Regions from separate parts of the Homo sapiens genome. Here region 2 is linked to region 1. The links are contacts of gene promoters, found by promoter capture Hi-C in blood cells and fetal thymus (Javierre and others, 2016). All regions are on one chromosome and are shown on one strand. The core of a region is centred on a gene start or on the middle of the fragment in contact, and the rest is flanking DNA. Distances in the headings are between cores, read along the strand shown. Region 1 holds the start of FUS (FUS RNA binding protein). Region 2 overlaps ITGAM (integrin subunit alpha M).

Region 1 (3,279 bases), core at 427-2,926:
TGCAAGCCCAATTCATGTCAGTGATTGCTCTAAAACATCGCGCATTCGTTTCATCCACTCTATGAGAAAGCCATTATCGCCAGGAGTCAAGAGACTAACTCTCCCAACGTCGCAGAACTACCAAAGTGGCACAGGTTTGAATTCGAACAGTGTTCAGATTGTGGCCTCTGCTCTCTCAGCCCAGACCCACAGAATAAGAAAGTCTCAAAAAAGGCCATTCTTCACTCTTTGACCAATCCCGGAGATGAAGTGGGCTTTTTAGTGCAAAGCCAGAGAATCAAAAGAGCCCTTGGACCCCAAATGACAGAGATCATGCAACTGCTCGCCTTAGGAGGCGAAAGTCAACAGGTACTCGAGTCCCCAGCCCTGGGACTCCAGATGGTTCCGTTTTCTCACCTACCCTGCCTTCCCCCAGCGAACAAAAAGCAACAAAAGCGCTTTTGAAAAGCCCCACTTAAGATACACGAACAAGATCAACTCATCCTCCCAGCACAGGAAACGCGGCGCTTCCCCCGCAGGAAAAGGGAAAGAGGACCAGGAGAGGGTGTGGCCTCGGGCGGCCGTTCTTCTCCGTCCCTATCTCAGAAAAAAGAAATTTAGACCAGGCGTGGTTGGCTTACGTCTGTAATCCCGACACTTCGGGAGGCCCAGGCGGGCGGATCACCTGAGGTCAGCAGTTCGAGACCAGCCTGACCAACATGGTGAAACCCCGCCCCTACTAAGAAACACAAAAATTAGCCGGGCTGTGGTGGCGGGCGCCTATAATCCCAACTACTCAGGAGGCTGAGGCAGAAGAATCACTTGAACCCAGGAGGTGGACGTTGCAGTGATCTGAGATCGCACCACTGCACTCCAGCCTGGGCGACAGAGGAAGACCGTGTCTCCAAAAAAAAAAAGAAAGAAATTTAGGCGGGAAAAACTCTCGGGCCGTCCCCAAGTCCGTTGGTCGAACCCTGACCACCGCCGCCAAACCGTTAAGCTAGAGGGCGGCCCCGATCCCGAGCCTCCGCCCCCAGCCGCGTGGCAACCCAGGCGGGAACGGAGCGATCCCGCCCATTCGCGAAGGACCACTGAGGGACAAGGCTCACACCGGACGCGCGCCGCCGAGTCTTCCGCGAAGGGTCTCGCGACAGAAAGCTGAACCAACACGAGGCGGGGAAGGGGTACCCGCGCCGCGAAGGGGGAGGGGCCCGCAGAGCGCGTGCGCGCCGCGAGTGCCCGGATGCAGCACTGCGACAAAGCGGGCTCGAGCGCGGGGCCGGGAGTTGGGGGAGGCGAGGCCACGGAGAATGGGCGTTTTCCACCCTCACCTGACGCTTCAAACCCCTAAGAAGCGTCCCTCCCAACGCCCACCCCAAGCAAACGGACTGCAAAGAAAAGACTTCCCGCCCCGCGCGCGAGGGCCAGAGGAGCGAAACAAAATGGCGACACCAGCCTCCTCCAGTTACTCTTCTCCGCGGCTTCCCGCCACAGGGGCGCCAAAAAATCCCACACGGGATCGCCGCCCCGGTCCCACTGAAAACGAAAAGCCCAGCTGGGAGGCCTCGGCCGGGTGCGCCGCCGCCGTCGCCTCGCGCCCTTACCTACCGTTTGAGGCCATGTCCGCGCACGCGCGCACAGGCAAGCAAGCAACGAAGTTCCAACACCGCTGAGTACCGACGCCTGGAGGACTGAGCAGCCCCGCCTCCTGCGTCGAAGCTTAAGTACGCTCCGCCGCCTACGCACCGCGCAGGCGCGCACCAAACGCGGAAGAGCAGGGGGAGGCAGGAACGCACTCCGCCCCCTTCGTAGGGCAGGTAGAGGGTCCGAGCAGGCAGAAGGGAAACAAGTTAACTAGAATCATGCGAATACTATACATAATCATATTTTTTGAGGAAGAACCCCTCTCTCCTCGGCAGGACTAGCCCACGATCTATCTCCACCCCCATGAAGGCACAGTGGTACGGCCTGAGTGCCCGCTGGGGGCGGGGCGAGGGGGCGGTCCCGGCGGCTGGGGACGAAACTGGAGTCACAGCCGGGAGTAGCGGGGTGGAACCGAGATTCCTGTGGCCGGGCCCCTTCGCTGGGCCCCGCTTTCACCCAGGATGGCGAGCTCCTGCCCTCCACCCTCTTGCCGCTGTATGGGGCGCCTCGTCCCCGCGGCTCCAGCCTCCCTCGTCGGCAGCACACTGGCCCTCCCTCTCCTGCGCCCTGAGGTTGACTTCGTCGTCTTTCAGGGTTGCCTTGCCTTTCGGCCTTTCTGGGGTTCGGGGATTATGACGTTTGACCTGAAAGACAGCAGGGATTTCGGCCGGGACCCCTGGGCCCCGGGCTCGTCCAGCACTGGGCTCTCACCCGGATCCTCATGGCTTTGCCCCTGGGGAGCCACGGGGCGGAACAGCCCAGGCCATCCTTGGGACCAGAGAGGGTTGACCTCAGATGTACGGTACCCAGCCTTTTCTCAGGGACCTCCTTTTTATTTTTCTGAAGCCCTACCAGGGCGATCCCAGAAATAAAACGTGTACAAGGCTTAAGTGGTTTCAAAATGCACAGATAATTTCCTTGTCATCAGTCTTACGAAGGAAGTAAAGATACCTCCGTTTTCTAGATAAGGAAAGTGAGACTCAGAGACCCAAGTAATTGTGCCTGATTACAGGGCAGCTAAGAGGAGTCGTGATTCGAATCCAGGTCTTGTAACTGCAAAACACTCCTCTTTTTGGTGGCATGAATGCTAGAGTGTTTGGTCGCCTTTTCACTTCCTGTGAGAGCAAAAGCAAAAAGAAACATTCAAATTAACTTGCAACTTGCACTTTCATCAGCCTTGCCTGGAGAAGGCAATTTGAAACTACTGAATAAAACAAGACAAAAGACGTTAATTCCTGATACATAGGCATGCAGGTTTTCCTTCCCAACTTAACCTTTCAGCGGGATTTCAGAAGGTCCTTTGAGGGTTGGACACGTCTTTCTAGAGAAACAATGAGGGCCATGCCCTGGGCCCGCCCACAAATTAAGCCCCACTAAGCCCTTGACTTCAGCCCTAAAGGCCCTGAATATGCCAATATCCACCCCACCGCCTTTGGAAGGAGAGTTCAACTCTCCAGTGAGAGCAAAAGAAAGGAAGTCCACCCTTATTCATGCATTAAGTCACAAATATTTATTTAGCACCTAGTATGTTCCAGGCACTGTTCTGGGCACTGGGTATGCATTCGTGTACAAAGCAGATGAAGTTAACATTTAATAATAAAGCTGACCGGGTGCGGTGGCTCACGCCTGTAATACCAGCACTTTGGGAGGCCGAGG
Region 2 (3,657 bases), core at 578-3,077, 130 kb before region 1:
CCTTACACCTTATATAAAAATTAACTTAAGATGGATTAAAGACTTAAATGTAAAATTTACAACCATAAAAACCCTAGAATAAAACCTAGGCAGTACCATTCAGGGCATAGGCATGGGCAAAATCTTCCTTACTAAAACACCAAAAGCAATTGCAACAAAAGCCAAAATTGACAAATGAGATCTAATTAAACTAAAGAGCTTCTGCACAGCAAAAGAAACTATCATCAGAGTGAACAGGCAGCCTACAGAATGAGAGAATATTTTTGCAATCTATCCATCTGACAAAGGTCTAATATCCAGAATCTACAAGGAACATAAACAAATTTACAAGAAAAAAACAAACAACCCCATCAAAAAATGGGCAAAGGATATGAACAGATACTTCTCAAAAGAAGACATTTATGTGGCCAACAAACATATGAAAAAAAAAAGCTCATCACTGGTCATTAGAGAAATGCAAATCAAAACCACAATGAGATACCATCTCATGCCAGTTAAAATGATGATCATTAAAAAGTCAGGAAACAACAGATGCTGGAGAGGATGTGGAGAAATAAGAATGCTTTTACACTGTTAGTGGGAGTGTAAATCAGTTCAACCATTGTAGAAGACAGTGTGGCGATTCCTCAAGGATCTAAAACCAGAAATACCATTTGACCCAGCAATCCCATTACTGGGTATATACCCAAAGGATTATAAATCATTCTACTATAAAGACACATGCACATGTATTTTTACTGAAGCACTATTTACAATAGCAAAGACTTGGAACCAACCTAAATGCCCATCAATGATAAACTGTATAAAGAAAATGTGGTACATATACACCATGGAATACTATGCAGCCATAAAAGAGAATGAGTTCATGTCCTTTGCAGGGACATAGATGAAACTGGAAACCATCATTCTCAGCAAACTAACACAGGAACAGGAAAGCAAACACCACATACTCTCACTCATAAGTGGGAGTTGAACAATGAGAATACATGGACACAGGGAGGGGAACATCACTGGAGCCTGTTGAGGGGTGGGGATCAAGGGGGAGGGAGAGCATTAGGACAAATACCTAATGCATGTGAGGCTTAAAACCTAGACAACGGGTTGATGGGTGCAGCAAACCACCATGGCACTTGTATACCTAGGTAACAAACCTACATGTTCTGCACATGTATCACAGAACTTAACGTATAATTTTTTTTTTTGAGACGGAGTCTCGCTCTGTTGCCAGGCTGGCGTGCAGTGGTGCAGTCTTGGCTCACTGCAACCTCCGCCTCCTGGGTTCAAGCAATTCTCCTGCCTCAGCCTCCCAAGTAGCTGGGATTACAGGCACACGCCACCAAGCCCAGCTAATTTTTGTATTTTTAGTAGAGATGGGGTTTCACCATGTTGGCAAGGCTGGTCTTGAACTCCTGACCTCGTGATCCGCCCGCCTCGGCCTCCCAAAGTGCTGGGATTACAGGCATGAGCCACTGTGCCTGGCCCAATGTGTAATTTAAAAAAGAAAAAATAAATAAAAACATGAAGATTTAAAAAAAAAAAAAAAAAGACTGCTCCCTACTACCACAGGAGGACGGACCAGCCTAAGCATTCACTGCAAAAGATGGCTATAATCGATCTTGTGAAAGCATTACTGAGCAGATCAAGATCTCTGGGAATGAACACTAAAGATGTTCTGAATAAATTATAGTCCGGCTGAGTGCAGTGGCTCACACCAGTAGTCCCAGCACTTTGGGAGGCCAAGGTGGGAAGATCACTTGAGCCCAGGAGTTGGAGACCAGCCTGGGAAACATAGACAGACCCTGTCACTGCAAAAGAAATTTAAATATTAGCCAGGTATGGTGGCATACACCTGCAGTCAAAGACACTTAGGAGGCTGAGGCAGGCGGATCACATGAGCCTGGGAGGTCAAGGCTGCAGTGAGCCATGATTGCACCACTTCACTCCAGCCTGCATGACAGACCAAGACCCTGTCTCAAAAATAATAATAATAAATAATAAATACATTTTAATGCAGTGGCATTTTAGTGTCTTTTTTGAAAACAAAAATTACATGTAATGTTACATTCTTGCATGTTCTTTGTTGATAGCATTAATTGATTCATTGGATTTCTTTTCTTTTTCTTTTTTATTATTATAATACTTTAAGTTTTAGGGTACACATGCACAACGTGCAGGTTTGTTACATATGTATACATGTGCCATGTTGGTGTGCTGCACCCATTAACTCGTCATTTAGCATTAGGTATATCTCCTAATGCTATCCCTCCCCCCTCCCCCCACCCCACAACAGTCCCTGGTGTGTGATGTTCCCCTTCCTGTGTCCATGTGTTCTCATTGTTCAATTCCCACCTATGAGTGAGAACATGCAGTGTTTGGTTTTTTGTCCTTGCGATAGTTTGCTGAGAATGATGGTTTCCAGCTTCATCCATGTCCCTACAAAGGACATGAACTCATCCTTTTTTATGGCTGCGTAGTGTTCCATGGTGTATATGTGCCACACTTTCTTAATCCAGTCTATCATTGTTGAACATTTGGGTTGGTTCCAAGTCTTTGCTATTGTGAATAGTGCCGCAATAAACACTTGTATGCATGTGCCTTTATAGCAGCATGATGTATAATCCTTTGGGTATATACCCAGTAATGGGATGGCTGGGTCAGATGGTATTTCCAGTTCTAGATCCCTGAGGAATCACCACACTGACTTCCACAATGGTTGAACTAGTTTACAGTCCCACCAACAGTGTAAAAGTGTTCCTATTTCTCCACATCCTCTCCAACACCTGCTGTTTCCTGACTTTTTAATGATTGCCATTCTAACTGGTGTGAGATGGTATCTCATTGTGGTTTTGATTTGCATTTCTCTGATGGCCAGTAATGATGAGCATTTTTTCATGTGTCTTTTGGCTGCATAAATGTCTTCTTTTGAGAAGTGTCTGTTCATATCCTTCACCCACTTTTTGATGGGGTTGTTTGTTTTTTTCTTGTAAATTTGTTTGAGTTCATTGTAGATTCTGGATATTACCCCTTTGTCAGATGAGTAGGTTGCAAAAATTTTCTCCCATTCAGTAGGTTGCCTGTTCACTCTGATGGTAGTTTCTTTTGCTGTGCAGCAGCTCTTTAGTTTAATTAGATCCCATTTGTCAATTTTGGCTTTTGTTGCCATTGCTTTCGATGTTTTAGACATGAAGTCCTTGCCCATGCCTATGTCCTCAATGGTATTGCCTAGGTTTTCTTCTAGGGTTTTTATGGTTTTAGGACTAACATGTAAGTCTTTAATCCATCTTGAATTAATTTTTGTATACGGTGTAAGGAAGGGATCCAGTTTCAGCTTTCTACATATGGCCAGCCAGTTTTCCCAGCACCATTTATTAAATAGGGAATCCTTTCCCCATTTCTTCTTTTTGTCAGGTTTGTCAAAGATCAGATAGTTGTAGATATGCGGCACTATTTCTGAGTGCTCAGTTCTGTTCCATTGGTCTATATCTCCAGCAGCTGAAGGTCCTGACTGTTAGAAGGAAAACTAACAACAGAAAGGACATCCACACCAAAAACCCATCTGTACGTCACCATCATCAAAGACCAAAGGTAGATAAAACCACAAAGATGGGGAAAAAACAGAGCAGAAAAACCGGAAACTCTAAAAATCAGAGCGCCTCT

What was found. Contacts are between HindIII fragments. The CHiCAGO score rates a contact against its expected background, and 5 or more counts as called.
Region 2: a contact is called between a fragment that was not itself captured here and the fragment with the promoter of FUS in region 1, in 4 of 17 cell types (M2 macrophages, M1 macrophages, M0 macrophages and 1 more). The highest score is 10.5, in M2 macrophages.

Annotation. Positions count from the first base shown.
Region 1 is chr16:31,178,536-31,181,814 of GRCh38, reverse strand. FUS (FUS RNA binding protein) reads right to left here and starts at 1,676. Exons shown (of 15, transcript NM_004960.4): 1 at 1,588-1,676. The coding sequence starts at 1,600. RefSeq lists enhancers at 401-450, 551-610, 641-730, 156-916, 917-1,678 and 4 more and silencers at 961-1,010, 1,131-1,280, 1,921-1,990. The HindIII fragment of the contact is 6,651 bases long and covers 1-1,700 here.
Region 2 is chr16:31,310,762-31,314,418 of GRCh38, reverse strand. All of the region lies in intron 14 of ITGAM (integrin subunit alpha M), which reads right to left. Among named protein-coding and RNA genes, the nearest start is that of ITGAX, 43 kb to the left of the region's middle. The HindIII fragment of the contact is 5,360 bases long and covers 1-3,657 here.